Linked DNA regions of Homo sapiens: regions 1, 3, 4 and 5 are each linked to region 2. The links are contacts of gene promoters, found by promoter capture Hi-C in blood cells and fetal thymus (Javierre and others, 2016). All regions are on one chromosome and are shown on one strand. The core of a region is centred on a gene start or on the middle of the fragment in contact, and the rest is flanking DNA. Distances in the headings are between cores, read along the strand shown. Region 1 holds the start of LOC101928391 (a long non-coding RNA gene). Region 2 holds the start of TMEM222 (transmembrane protein 222). Region 3 overlaps AHDC1 (AT-hook DNA binding motif containing 1). Region 4 overlaps AHDC1 (AT-hook DNA binding motif containing 1). Region 5 overlaps LOC101928391 (a long non-coding RNA gene).

Region 1 (2,700 bases), core at 147-2,646, 290 kb before region 2:
ACGAGGCCCTGAGAGAGAATCTGCAGGGCCAGAGGCTGGAGTCTGAAGACCAAGATAGGCACAGAAGCCTGAGCTGTCCCTGGCACGATGTGAGCAGGGCAGATGTTCCAATCTCCCTTCCCTCAGGTGTGGAGCGGCTCATGAAGCCCCTCCCTGTCTAGAAGCTGGTTCGGCCCATCTGATCCGACCCTGCAGGGAGGCAGGCAGAGGTGAGTGGTGAGAAAGCCCATTTCACAGGTGAAGAAACTGAGGCTCAGGAAGGTGGCGATTTGCGTCTCTATCTCATCTCGCCTGCCAGGGTAGAAGCTCCTCAGATTCAAGCGCCATTTAGTTCCTGCTTCTGTTTCCTCAGAGCCATGCTGTTGATTGAAAACAGGAGTGAGTGTTCCTCAGTGGGTTCCCAGCCCCAGCAGGCCTCACGCCCCCTTTTGTAACAAGTATCTTGCAATGCCCCTTTCCTATAATGGAATACAATTCATAGATTATGTGGTCTATTTATACACTACTAATTTTTTTTTTTTTTTGAGATGGAGTTTCACTCTTATTCACTCTTATTGTCCAGGCTGGTGTGCAATGGCGTGATCTTGGCTCACTGCAACCCCTTCCTCCCGGGTTCAAGTGATTCTCCTGCCTCAGCCTCCCAAGTAGCTAGGATTACAGGCATGTGACACCACGCCTGGCTAATTTTTTTCTTTTGTTTTGTTTTGTTTTTTTTTAAGATGGAGTCTCACTCTGTCGCCCAGGCTGGAGTGCAGTGGCGTGATCTCGGCTCACTGCAAGCTCCGCCTCCTGGGTTCACGCCATTCTCCTGCCTCAGCCTCTCGAGTAGCTAGGACTACAGACGCCCACCACCATGCCCGGCTAATTTTTTTTGTATTTTTAGTAGAGGAGACGGGTTTCACTATGTTAGCCAGGATGGTCTTGATCTCCTGATCTTGTGATCCGTCCGCCTCGGCCTCCCAAAGTGCTGGGATTACAGGCGTGAGCCACCGCGCCTGGCCGACGCCTGGCTAATTTTTGTATTTTTAGTAGAGACGGGGTTTCACCATGTTGGCTACGCTGGTCTTAAACTCCTGACCTCAGGTGCGCCTCGGCCTCCCAAAGTGCTAGGATTACAGGCGTGAGCCACTGCGCCCAGCCTATTTATTTATTTATTTTGAGACAGAGCCTCGCTCTGTTGCCCAGTCTAGAGTGTAGTGGCTCAATCAAGGGTTACTGCAACCTCTGCCTCCTGGGCTGAATCTATTCTCCCACCTCAGCCTCACCAGTAGCTGAGACTACAGGTGCACGCCACCACACCTGGCTAATTTTTTTTTTTTTTTTTTTTTTTTTGTAGAGACTGGGTCTCACAGTGTTGCCCAGGCTGGTCTTGAATTCCTGGGCTCAAGTGATCCGCCCTCCTCGGCCTCCCAAAGTGCTGGGATTACAAGCATGAGCCACCGTGCCTGGCCTTGGCCTTGTCTGTCTTTTTTTTTTTTTTTTTTTTTTTTTTTGAGACGGAGTCTTGCTCTGTCACCAGGCTGGAGTGCAGTGGCGCGATCTCGGCTCACTGCAACCTCTGCCTCCTGGGTTCAAGCGATCCTCCCTGCCTCAGCCTCCCGAGTAGCTAGGACTACAGGCGCACGCCACCAAGCCCAGCTATTTTTTTTTTTTTTTTTTTTTTTTTGGTATTTTTAGTAGAGACGGGGTTTCACCACGTTGGCCAGGGTGGTCTCCATCTCTTGGCCTCGTGATCAGCCGGCCTCGGCCTCCCGAAGTGCTGGGATTACAGTCGTGAGCCACCGCGTCTTTTTAAACCTGTAAATACTCAGGCCTACTCTTGTAGAAAAAAGGCTTCTCAAATTTGAAAGTGCCCGGGAGCCACCTGGGGCACATTCCTTGGAATGTGCAGGTTCTGAGTCAGCAAGTCTGGGGCTAGACCTGAGAGCCTGCATTTCTAACCTGCTCCCAGGTGGTGCCCAGTTGTTGCTCCTCAAGCTGGGAAAAGATGACCTTGGCTGCAGATCTGAGGGGCTGCGAAGCCCAGGGCGTCCAGTTCCCGAGGTGCCCTTCCGCCCAGAGCCGCCCTCTCCCCAGACCCCAGTGAGGGTCAGCCCTCTCCCAGGCCTGCCCTGATCGCTGCCCAGGGAAGCGCCCGCCCTGCCGCAGCCGCCCAGTCTGATTCCTGGCATCCACGTGGCAGGGCGCCCGCTGCAGCGACAGCAGTTCCCACGGGAGGAGTCGCACCGGGAATGGGCCGCGGGGGAGGGAGAGAGTGGGAGGGAGTGAGGCCCCGGGAATTGTCCTCTGAAGGGGCGGCGCATGGGCGTCCCCCGCCCTGCTAGCCCCATCTCCTTCCCTGTCCCTGCTTGGGTGAGTAAATCCCTAGTGCTTTGATTCGCTTGCCCCTCCTTCCGTCTCTCCCCACTTCCTCCTCGCTCGCTCGTTCCCTCTGCCTTCAATCTGAGCTGGGCCCTTGCAGTGAGGAGCCCACGGTTACCTGGCTGTTCCCTGCCCGCCACCTCCCTCCAGGTGGGAGGCTTATGGAGGGCTATTGCTGATCTGGGCAGGGCAGGGGCCGTGGTTCCTGGGGAGGACGGAGGAGGTCTCCCACCGTGAGAACGAGGCCAGGCTAATCTGCTCGCCCGGCGCCGCTGGAAGGCAAAACATGAGCCCCTAACAACAACAACAACTGTCCTTCCCTCCCAGGAGGACTGCACT
Region 2 (2,700 bases), core at 46-2,545:
CATACCTTCCTTTACCTGATTACTCTTTTTATTCTTTTTTTTTTTTCTTTAAGGCTGATTTTTAGTGGCAGCCTTCCTTCTGACTTTGGGCTGTCCCCAACTTCCCCTCCCCACCCCAGTAGACCCCAGTAGACTTCATTTTCTTTGTCTTGACATCCTTTAAAAAGCCAAAAGTCTCCAACATTTGAGCCTGGCTTCTCTCTAATTATGGTTGTGTGTGATCTCAAACAATTAACTTCCCTGAGCCCGTTTTCCCATTTGTACAATGAAGGGATTGGATCACATCTAAGGCTTATGATTTACTCCAGTAAGTATTCACACTCTTGCACACACTGCTCTGCACGGCCTTCCTTTCTTTGTACCGCTGCACTCATACTTCCACTCCTGTGCCACATGGCAAACATCAAGACTCAACTCAATAATATCCTATCTTCCAGCAAGTCTTCCCTGTATATACAATAAAACACACACACACACACACGTGCGCACACACAACTGTGTGTGTCTTCCTTTATGCTACCACTACCTCGTGAGAGGGCCACAGAATGAAAAGGGCAAGGGAGGTATAAGACTTGGGTTTGGGCCAGGCGCGGTGGCTCACGCCTGTAATCCCAGCACTTTGGGAGGCCAAGGCGGGCGGATCACAGGGTCAGGAGTTTGAGACCATCCTGGCTAACATGGTGAAACGCCACCTCTACTAAAAATACAAAAATTAGCCGGGCGTGGTGGCACGCGCCTGTTATCCCAGCTACTCGGGAGGCCGAGGCAGGATCGCCTGAACCTGGGAGGTGGAGGTTGCAGTGAGCCGAGATTGTGCCATTGCCCTCCAGCCTGGGCAACAAGAGAAAAAATTCCGCCTCAGAAAAAAAAAAAAAAAAAAAGACTTGGGTTTGCATCGTGGTCTCTCACCTTTTGAACCTCAGTTTCTCACCTGTAACAGGAGGGAATACCTAATTTGGATGTCTAATTAGTTTATGGGGATTAGAAACAATTCATGTCAAGTGCTTGGCACCTAAGAAGTGCTCAATAAATAGCGACTGTACCACACCTCCTAGGAGCCCTCAGCGTACTGAATTAGAGTTCTCTATAAGTCTCCGGCGCTAGACTGCGAACTGCCTGAGAGCATCCCTTCTGCAGCCGCGGGGCATAAGCGGCAAAGACTCGGGGCTGGCAGGCGCATAGGGAGTGGGGCGGGGCTGGCCGGGCCCAGAGGAACGCGGCTCGGATTCCCGGGGGAAGGCCAAGCGGGGCGGACCCCATCTCCGGGAAGTGACGCCATGGGGACGAGCGGCACCAGAGCCGGGGCCAGTCGGAGCGGGGCGCGCGCCGCATGGCGGAAGCGGAAGGGAGTTCTCTGCTCTTGTTGCCGCCGCCGCCACCCCCGCCCAGGATGGCGGAAGTGGAGGCGCCGACGGCGGCCGAGACGGACATGAAGCAATATCAAGGCTCCGGCGGCGTCGCCATGGATGTGGAACGGAGTCGCTTCCCCTACTGCGTGGTGTGGACGCCCATCCCGGTGCTCACGTGAGTCTCTTCCGGCATCCGCCTGGGGACGAGGAGGGCCCAGGGAGAGCCGGAGTCGGGCCGGGCTAGCCTCCGGCCCCAACGCGCAGCAAGCCTTTTCCTCGGGTCTGGCCCGCACGCCTCGCCCAGTCACCAGAACCCCGCCATCCATGTAGTGCCAGTTTGTGCACACGGCTGGGACACGCTCCCTGCTCTCAATACACCTGGTGTAGCCAGGGAGAGAGTTGTAGGCCAGCAGGAAAGGGCAAGTGGCTGGGAGACTCGAGCTGTGAGTGTGTAGAAGAGGGAGCCCCTTATCGGATCTGAGGAGACATTTTTATTAATTCACTGGTTTATTCTCTCATTGAGCAAATGCTTACTGGTCGCTTACCATATTCCAGACATACTGCTGGGTCTGGGAGCAAGAGTGGGAGTTTGGTTGGGACCACACGAGATCCTGGGATGTCAACATTGGAAGGGCCCCCAGAGATCTGAGAGTCCAACCCTTTGTCTCACGTGCCATCTCAGTTGCAAACTGGGTTTAGATCCCAGGTTGTCTGCCTCCCAGACCAAAGTTCTTTCTGTAACATCAGCCTTTGTCAGGGGAGAAGCAGGTGCTCTGGTACTACTTGGCGCCTTTTGGGAGGAGCTCTCATATGGGGAGAGGTGGTTTGCCCTCCTGCTTCAACCTTGACAGCTGATAAACGTAACCCCTCCTCACCGTGCTGGATAGTTTGCCAAGCTCTTAAACACCCATTTTATCAGAATTAAACATCCATTTTCTAAGGTAGGTTATCTTCTCAGATGGTGAAGCTGAGCTGCTTGTAGCATTAAGTGTCTTGATCAGGTTCGCACCCCAATAAGCAAAGGCATGAAGAGCTCAGTCTTCTGATCTAACTTGCTCTTTGCACTACATCTTATCCACTCTCACCTGATGGGATAGCTTGTTCCGCTATCAATAACAGCCAGTGGTGATGTGGAGAAGGGATCATTTGGGGCCTTAGGTGTTGCTGATTCTAAAAAGATCGTAGTTTTTGAATTATGTTAAAATACTTGAATTATTTTGTGTTTTCAAGTACTTATGCATATAAGAGCATCCAAATCTGTTCTTTAAAAATAAAATATTGGGACAGGCGCGGTGGCTCATGCCTGTAATCCCAGCACTCTGGGAGGCAGTGGAGGGTGGATCGGTAGGTA
Region 3 (2,700 bases), core at 165-2,664, 260 kb after region 2:
TCACACCAGTGTCACCCTTACAACAGTGGAGGCTGCTTTTGGGCATGTGGTGACCCGTGACCCTGGCCCTGTCTAGGCACTGGCCATCCTGAGTCTAGCACCTCACACACACACATATATACAGTGCATCCCAGTGCTCACCGCCTGCCCACACCCCCCAACGCCAGCACCCACCGTCATGACATGAACACAGAGACCAGTACCCTACCTTGCACTGGTGACAGCGCCCCTGTCACAAAGCCAGCAGCTTCAGACAGCATCCCTCAACATTCTTCCTGGCTACTCTGTCCCTGTCCCTCACTCCCTCTCCAGTAGCTCACAGTCCAAATCCCACAACGGATGGGGAAGCTTAGGCCCAAGAGGAAGGGATGGGAGGACACAGTCATCCCTCCTGAGACCCGGGGATAGGATCATAAATGAGGAAAGAAAATTGCCTTTGGCCAGTGAATGACAGACGTGGGCATCCAATACAAATCATTCAGCTCCTGGTCGGTTGCCCCACTGCAGCCCTCTGAATCTGTTCAGCTCCTGCCGTGCGGCAGCTAGAGGGGCCCCCAGGACAGGATTCTAGAAATGGGCACCAAGCTGGGACCAGAGTCCTAAGGACCACTCTCTGCTCCCAAGTGTCAGTCCCAGACTATGGGCCCCTAGGTTTCACTAATCCATCAAATTCTAGACTCAGCCTAGCCTCAGAGCCATGGGGGCAGGGGCATCTGGGGGTGAGGGGAGATGGCATACAGGGGGAACAGCCTAGGACAGGGCTTGGAGCTGCTTCCTGCTCCCCCCACTCCCAAGCAAGGAAGCACAAAGACTGGCAGGCCCCCCACTCCGCCCCGGAAACCTGGCAGTTTATTTCTGTCTCTGGGCCCCCTGTTTCCACAGAGTCAGTCCAGGAAGGCTGGCAGCAGCTGGCTCGGAGGGGTGGAGCTCCTGCTCTCTCAAGGGTCCAGCTGCCACCCTGCTCCCCTCCCCCTGACCTGCCAGGCCAGACAAGACTGAGGTGACACTGGGATAAGGGACAGGAACTGGGGGCCAGTGCTCAGAGGTGATACTGAATACCCTGAGAGGCCAGAGCCCCAACAGAGATTCCACCTGAGGCCAGGGAGTTAAGACTCCAGGGGAGGGAACCCCTGACTCCCCAGCCCACAGCCCAGATGTTCTCCCAGGCAGTCAGACTACACCCAGTTCAAGTCTGCTAAGGGTGTAACCTCTGGCGAGTACAACCCTACTTGTTCCAGATTATTCTGGCTCATAACTCCTCTGGACCCTGGTCCCAAAGAAAAGCCTGTTTCTAAATCTGTGCTGTCCAACATGGTAGCCACTAGCCACATGTGAGTGTGGCTAGTCAGAACTGGAATGTGCTGTAAGTACAAAATATACACCAGATTCTGAAGTCTTAATGTATTTTTTAAATATAAAATACCTCATTAATAATTTTTATAAGGCTTATACATTAAAATGCTAGTACTTTGGATATATTGGGTTATATAAGATAAATTGTTGGGCCAGGCACAGTGGCTCATGCCTGTAATCCCACACTTTGGGAGGCCGAGGTGGGTGGATCACCTGAGGTCAGGAGTTCGAGACCAGCCTGGCCAACACGGTGACACCCCATCTCTACAAAAAATACAAAAATTAGCTGGGTGTGGTGGTGGGCACCTGTAATCCCAGCTACTTGGGGGGCTGAGGCAGGAGAATCGCTTCAACTCGGGAGGTGGAGGTTGCAGTGAGCTGAGATTGTGCCACTGCACTCCAGTGAGGGCAACAGAGCAAGACTCCCTCTCAAAAAAAAAAAGAAAGATAAATTGTTAAAATTAATTCCACTTACTTCCTTTTATGTCTTTTTACTTTGTTTAATGTGGCTACTTGAAAATTTTAAATTACATATGTGGCTTCTCTTTTTTTTTTTTGACACGGAGTCTTACACTGTCGCACAGGCTGGAGTGAAATGGCGCTATCTCGGCTCACTGCAACCTCCACCTCCCAGGTTCAAGAGATTCTCCTGCCTCAGACTCCCGAGTAGCTGGGATTATAGGTGCCTGCCACCATGCCCAGCTAATTTTTTGTATTTTTAGTAGAGACGGGGTTTTACTATGTTGGCCAGGCTGGTCTTGAACTCCTGACCTTGTGATTCACCTGCCTCGGCCTCCCAAAGTGCTGGGATTACAGGCGTGAGCCACCACACCCGGACACATATATGGCTTCTATTATGTGTCTACTGGATAGTCCTGTTCTAAATCTTTTTTTTTTTTTTTTTTAAGACAGTGTCTGGCTTTGTCACTCAGGCTAGAGTGCAGCGGTATAATCACAGCTCACTGCAGCCTCAATCTTCTGGGCTCAATCTTCCCACCTCAGCCTCTTGCATAGCTGGGACTACATGCTACCATGCCCAACTAACTTTTTAACGTTTTTGTAGAGACAGGGCCTCACTACGTTGCCCAGGCTGGTGTTCTAGGTCTTGTGGGTTCTGGCTTTGGACTAAAGCTTTGCCTTCTCTGGATCCGTATCTGTGTGACTTTAGCTCACTCACTTTCTCATATCTAGACCACAGCCTTATGTGTTAGTCTAAATCTCACCACCCCACACCACCCCACCCCAGTTTTCCGTGAATCTAGGTTCAGCCAGAGATGATGGCTTAGTCTGCTTTATACACACTATTTAGTGCATTTCTTGTTCATCAATCCCCAATATCTAGATCCC
Region 4 (2,700 bases), core at 114-2,613, 270 kb after region 2:
TGAGCAATGTGTGTGACAGGCTGAGGCTGTCTAGGGGAACAAGGTGGGGGAGAGGGTGTGCTGGAATGTGCCAACGGTGGGAGTGAGGGCTGCAGAAGGATTAGGCGGGGTATGTGACAGGGTGCCGTGGGGTGCAGGCGGAGCACAGAATGGGTGCAGGGTTGTGACTAGCTGAGGCTGTCTTTGTGTACAGGTGTGGTATCGGGGTGTTTGGAGAGGTGTAGGGGTGTCCCTGGGCCCTTAGGTGGCTGAGGAAAAGTACCGGAGCTGAGACTGTCTGGGAAGCGGTGGGGCCGGGCCATTAGGACTGCCTGTCGAGGAGGTGCCGGGATCCAGGAGGCAGTGTGCACAAGTTTCAGGAGGTATTAGAAGCTTCGGGGCCTGATCTGTTAGAGATATACTAGAACCGAAGCCATGTCTGTGTGTTTGAGGCAAATGTTGTGGCTACAGAGGGTGTTCTTGTTTGAGTGGGTGTTTGAAGCAGTGAGTGTATGTGTGTTGTAGGGGGAGGCTGTATGTTTGGAAAGGTATAGGGGATGATACCGGTGTTTGGGGAAGTGCTGAGCTATAGCTGGGAGAAACGTTGGGGGCTGTGGGCAGAGTGTGTGTGTCTGGGGAGGTGTCAGGGCTTTGAGGGTATGAGTCAGTGGGAAGGTAGCAGGGCTGTAGCTGGGTCCTGGGTGTATCTGGCAGTGTTGGGGTTGGATAGGGGGTTGATATGCTGAGGGTGTGATAGCTGTGTGTGTGTGTGTGTGTGATTGTGTGTGTGTTGGGGTGTTTAGGGATGTATTGGGGGGTCATAAAAATGTGGGTTTTGGTTAAGTACTAGGGCTGTGAACATGTGCCTGGAAAGGTGTTGTGGTTGGTGGAGGATGCACTGTGGTTTTGGGGAGGAGCTGGGGAGTGTCTCTGGAAAGGTTATTGGGATTTTAATTGGGTACCTGCAAGGGTCTGGGGAGGCGTTAGAGACCTGAGGTCCCTCCATACGTGGGAAGGGAAGAATGGGTCTCTGATATCAGAGATGTGCCACAGGCTATCGTCCGTGCATGCACAGGTATGAGGGCTGTAACCAGGTTCCTGGTGTCAGGGAGGTGTTGCAGGTTGTGGGTAAGCATGTGGTGGTTGTGTGTTTGGGGGTATGTGCATGTGAGGTAGCTGGATGTCGGGGGGTATCTGTATGTAGAGTGTGTGTGTGGAAGTGTGTGGGCTGGGTGTTGTAGGTGGAGCAGTTGTGTTTTAGAGGTGTTAGAGCTGTGAGTGTGTATGTGGGGCAGTTGTCTATTTAGAAGGTGTTGGGAGCTGTAACTGAGTCCCTGGACCCCAGAGAGGTGATGGGGCTGCAGGGTTTGTGTGTGTTAGGGGGGATGCCCCTCTGGGAGAATGAAGGGCAGCATCCTGGCCTTTGCTCCGGGGCCTAACTGGGGGCTACCCGCTAGAACCCCTATGGTATGGGGTGCCTGTGCGGGGGTGTTGAGACAGGCAGTCCATCTGTCTCAGCCTGTGCCCAGGCCCAAGGAGCAGAGCTGCCTCCTCGCTCCCTGGGGGGCAGCAGCGGATCCAAGCCCACCCATCTGCCTTCAGATGGTCGAGGCAGGAGCCTCCACAAAGCTGCCTGGAGGGCAGCACTGCGTTTGAAGAGACACAGGCTGGGGGTGGGGGAACTGCACAGCAAACAGTCCTCACGGAGGCTCCTTTAAAAACCACTGACGCCAGAAGAGAGGAAGAGGGAGGACAGGGGCGGGTATGTCTGTCCTTGTGCATCTGTGTGGGTCAGTGCCCAACTTCCAGGCCGGGGGCCCCTTCCCACGTGCTTGTGCTGGATGTTCCTGTTCAGGTAGCACTCAGGCCTTGGAAAACACTGCTCCAATCCAGGCAACAGGCTCCCAGCCTCACACCTGAACTACACCCTCATATCTGCATAGTCCCTACACTCACACGCACTCATACACCTTCCCACATGCATGCCTGCCACTGCACGCTCACACATGCAGTTTGCCCCATGCCCTTAAACCTTCATATATGTACCCCCATCACACATACCCCACCCTGCAAAACCCACAGTTACACACACCCATCTTACACACACACCTATCACATAAACGTGCATCCACACATACATACCTGACAAGTCACTCTCACACACACACCCACACACTCCACACACCTTGGAGCTCCCTGTCACACCCGTACCCTATCTCACATACACCCAGTCTCTCTCACACTCCATGAGGACACTCGCCATCCCTTCTACCTGCACATGCAAGCACATGTTTATACACATATGCCTCACCACCTTTGAGACAGCTCCCCACTACCCAAGCCACTGGGCATTTCTCTGTGTCCAGGTCAGGCCCTGAAGCTTTCCAGAAGGGCTCTCACCGACTGAGAGGACCTTCTGCCTCCCCACCTTGCCAGCCGGGTTAGAGTATGGGGGTGGGGGGCAGGTGGCAGGGGGAGGTTCTGTGTGCTCTGGTGTGACTGCCACTGTATGTAGGAGGGTGTCCCATGACAGGGCCTGTGAGTCAACACCTGTACAGGGAAGGAAGCACAGGTGCGTGTTCACCAGCTATGTTCGTGAGATGCAGAATGAGTGTGAGGGTGGAGATTTACATGTCACAAATTTGTGTGTGTGTGTGTGTGTGACAGTGTGAGAGTGTGTGTGTGAGAGAGAGAGAGAGAGAGACGCAGGGCCTGTGTAGA
Region 5 (2,700 bases), core at 127-2,626, 270 kb before region 2:
CCTGGCCACGATGGTGAAACCCCGATTCTACTAAAAATACAAGAATTAGCTGGGTGTGGTGGTGGGGGCCTGTAATACCAGCTATTCTGGAGGCTGAGGCAGAGAATTGCTTGAACCTGGGAGGTGGAGGTTGCAGTGAGCCGAAATCGCACCACTGCACTCCAGCCTGGGCGACAGAGTGAGACTCCGTCTCAAAAAAAATAAAATAAAATAAAATAAGCTGGGTATGGTGGCCCACACCTCTAGTCCCAGCTACTCCGGAGGCTGAGGTAGGAGGATTGCTTGAGTCCAGGAGGTGGAGGTTGCAGTGAGCTGTGATCACACCATTGCACCCCAGCCTGGGTGACAGAGTGAGACCCTGTTTCAAAAAAAAAAAAAACAGAGACAGAAGAGTGAGGTGGGAAAATACCCAATCCTTTGGCACGTATCACTTCGATTCATATTTCTTTGCTAAAGCTTGGGCCCATGGCTTCACCTAGTTGCAAGGGAAACTGGGAAATGTACTTTCTTTCTTCTTCTTCTTCTTTTTTTTGAGATGAAGAGTCTCGCTCGCTCCGTCGCCCAGACTGGAGTGCAATGGCGTGATCTCGGCTCACTGCAACCTCCGCCTCCTGTGTTTAAGCAATTCTCCTGCCTCACCCTCCCAAGTAGCTGGGATTACAGGCACTGGCCACCACACCCGGCCAATTTTTTGTATTTTTAGTAGAGACGGGGTTTCATCATGTTCGCCAGGCTAGTCTTGAACTCCTGACCTCAAGTGATCCACCCGCCTCCGCCTCCCAAAGTGCTGGGATTACAGGTGTGAGCCACCAGGCCCGGCCTGGGAAATGTGCTTTCTAGCCACGCAGCATGTGCCCAGCTAAAATATGGCCATTCTATTTATTAAAGAGAGAAGGAGAAACTACGCATTTGAGGATGACTAGCAGTCAATGCTGTGTAATCTGCCTCCAGGGTTCTCAGCAGTGTTCTCAGTAAATATGAGTATCCCATGGATTAGGTGGTTTAATTTCTTATCATAAAACAATCATAAGTATCAAGTTTTTATCTATGAATTGGTTAGGGAGATTTAGGCTGCAAGTAACAGAATACTAAGCTAAAAGTTGTCTAAAGAGTTGGGAGTTTCCTAGCTTAGCCAACATAAGAGGAGACCTCTATCTTTACAAATAATTTTTTTTTTTTTTTTTTTTTTGGAGACAGAGGCTTGCTCTGTTGCCCAGGCTGGAGCGCAGTGGTGCGATCTCGGCTCACTGCAACCTCCACCTCCCGGGTTCAAGTGATTCTTCTGCCTCAGCCTCCCAAGTAGCTGGGACTACAGGCACATACCACCACGCCTGGCTAATTTTTGTATTTTTAGTAGAGATGGGGTTTCCTCATGTTGGCCAGGCTGGTCTTGAACTCCTGAACTCGTGATCTGCCCGCCTCAGCCTCCCAAAGTGCTGGGATTACAGGCGTGAGCCACTGTGCCCGGCCTTCTCCGAATAATTTTTTTAAATGAGCCAGGTGCGGTGGTATGTGCCTGTGGTCCCAGCTACTCAGGAGGCTGAGGCAGGAGGATCGTCTGAGCCTGGGAGGTCAAGGCTGCAGTGAGCCATGATCACACCACTACAGTCCAGCCTCCAGCCTCTGCAATGGAGTGAGAGTGTCTCAAAAAAAAAAAAAAAAAAAAAAAAACACAACAAAAAAACCCCACAGGACTTTTATCTTAAGATATCTTGGGGTAGACCATTTTTGAGTCAAGGCCCTCATGGTTGAAAGATGACTACCGTGGCTCCAAGCATCATATCCACAGAGAGCAACTAAATAACAGCTGTTATATATTGAGTACTTATCATGTGCTAGAACTGTCTGGGCATTTTAGGTGTATTCACTCATTTGATTTTCACAGCACCCTGAGAAGAAAGTCCAATTATTTTCATTTTGCAGAGGAGGAACACGAGGTACAGAAAGGTCAAGTAATCTGCTTAAGACAACACAGCCAATCGGAGGCAGAGCCATGCTTTTAGCCCAGATGGTTTGACCCTGGAGCCTGCACTTTTGTGTGGCTGCATTTGCCACGGGCAGCATCTCAGGAAGGGAGGCTTGGACAGGGGTCCTCCTAAAACATCTCTTTTTGTAAGAGGAGGAAAATTCCTCCCAGAAGCCCCCAGCAGCCTCCCCCTCTTATCTCATTGGCCAGAACAGGGTCCCATGGTTCTCCCCAACCCAATTACCAGCAGAGGGGAGTGGATCAAATGTAAATATCCCAGTCACCATCCACCTGGGGGTAATTAGTACATTGTCCTCCCACCAGAACAAAACAAGCTTCTTTTAGCAAGGAAGCGGGGGGGCAAATATCTGCCCCTAGGCAGAACCCATGGTTGGTAGCTGGGGTCCGCCAGCCCACTGGGATTGAAATAAGGTTGGCTCAGACCCCATCCCTTACTTTCCACAAGGCTTCTGCAATTTCTCAGGCTTACAATTGTGTGCCTCTGATTTCCGGCTTCTGCTGAATTCTAGCAGCTGTTCCCTTTATTTCTGCCCTGGAATTGACTCAAATGTAGGATGCAGCCCGTTTCTTCTCCCAAGAAACCGTGGATACCAGACTGCTCTGTAAGCAGAATTTCACTAAGATTTGTGGGTCCCTGGAAGAGTTATAGAGTGGCTCAGCACACGACTGAAAGTGGCACTGGGACGTCTCTGCTCTTACAAGCTGGTTTCTCA

Evidence for each region. The method cuts DNA at HindIII sites, captures the fragments that hold promoters and counts their contacts. A CHiCAGO score of 5 or more calls a contact.
Region 1: a contact is called between a fragment that was not itself captured here and the fragment with the promoter of TMEM222 in region 2, in 2 of 17 cell types (endothelial precursors and M1 macrophages). The highest score is 5.8, in endothelial precursors.
Region 3: a fragment that was not itself captured here is called in contact with the fragment with the promoter of TMEM222 in region 2 in 4 of 17 cell types (M0 macrophages, endothelial precursors, M1 macrophages and 1 more); the score reaches 6.0 in M0 macrophages.
Region 4: a fragment that was not itself captured here is called in contact with the fragment with the promoter of TMEM222 in region 2 in 2 of 17 cell types (naive B cells and M1 macrophages); the score reaches 5.6 in naive B cells.
Region 5: a fragment that was not itself captured here is called in contact with the fragment with the promoter of TMEM222 in region 2 in 1 of 17 cell types (endothelial precursors); the score reaches 7.1 in endothelial precursors.

What each region holds. Positions count from the first base shown.
Region 1 is chr1:27,029,478-27,032,177 of GRCh38, forward strand. LOC101928391 (a long non-coding RNA gene) reads left to right here and starts at 2,281. Exons shown (of 8, transcript XR_007065559.1): 1 at 2,281-2,352. The HindIII fragment of the contact is 2,970 bases long and covers 1-2,700 here.
Region 2 is chr1:27,320,868-27,323,567 of GRCh38, forward strand. TMEM222 (transmembrane protein 222) reads left to right here and starts at 1,296. Exons shown (of 6, transcript NM_032125.3): 1 at 1,296-1,524. The coding sequence starts at 1,331. RefSeq lists enhancers at 710-1,256, 1,257-1,804, 1,304-1,653, 1,805-2,351. The HindIII fragment of the contact is 7,674 bases long and covers 1-2,700 here.
Region 3 is chr1:27,576,805-27,579,504 of GRCh38, forward strand. The region is part of intron 3 of AHDC1 (AT-hook DNA binding motif containing 1); the gene reads right to left. Among named protein-coding and RNA genes, the nearest start is that of AHDC1, 26 kb to the right of the region's middle. The HindIII fragment of the contact is 2,136 bases long and covers 347-2,482 here.
Region 4 is chr1:27,594,714-27,597,413 of GRCh38, forward strand. All of the region lies in intron 3 of AHDC1 (AT-hook DNA binding motif containing 1), which reads right to left. Among named protein-coding and RNA genes, the nearest start is that of AHDC1, 8.1 kb to the right of the region's middle. RefSeq lists enhancers at 339-468, 1,083-1,608, 1,609-2,134. The HindIII fragment of the contact is 1,987 bases long and covers 371-2,357 here.
Region 5 is chr1:27,055,383-27,058,082 of GRCh38, forward strand. All of the region lies in intron 5 of LOC101928391 (a long non-coding RNA gene), which reads left to right. Among named protein-coding and RNA genes, the nearest start is that of TENT5B, 44 kb to the left of the region's middle. RefSeq lists a silencer at 2,656-2,700. The HindIII fragment of the contact is 1,845 bases long and covers 455-2,299 here.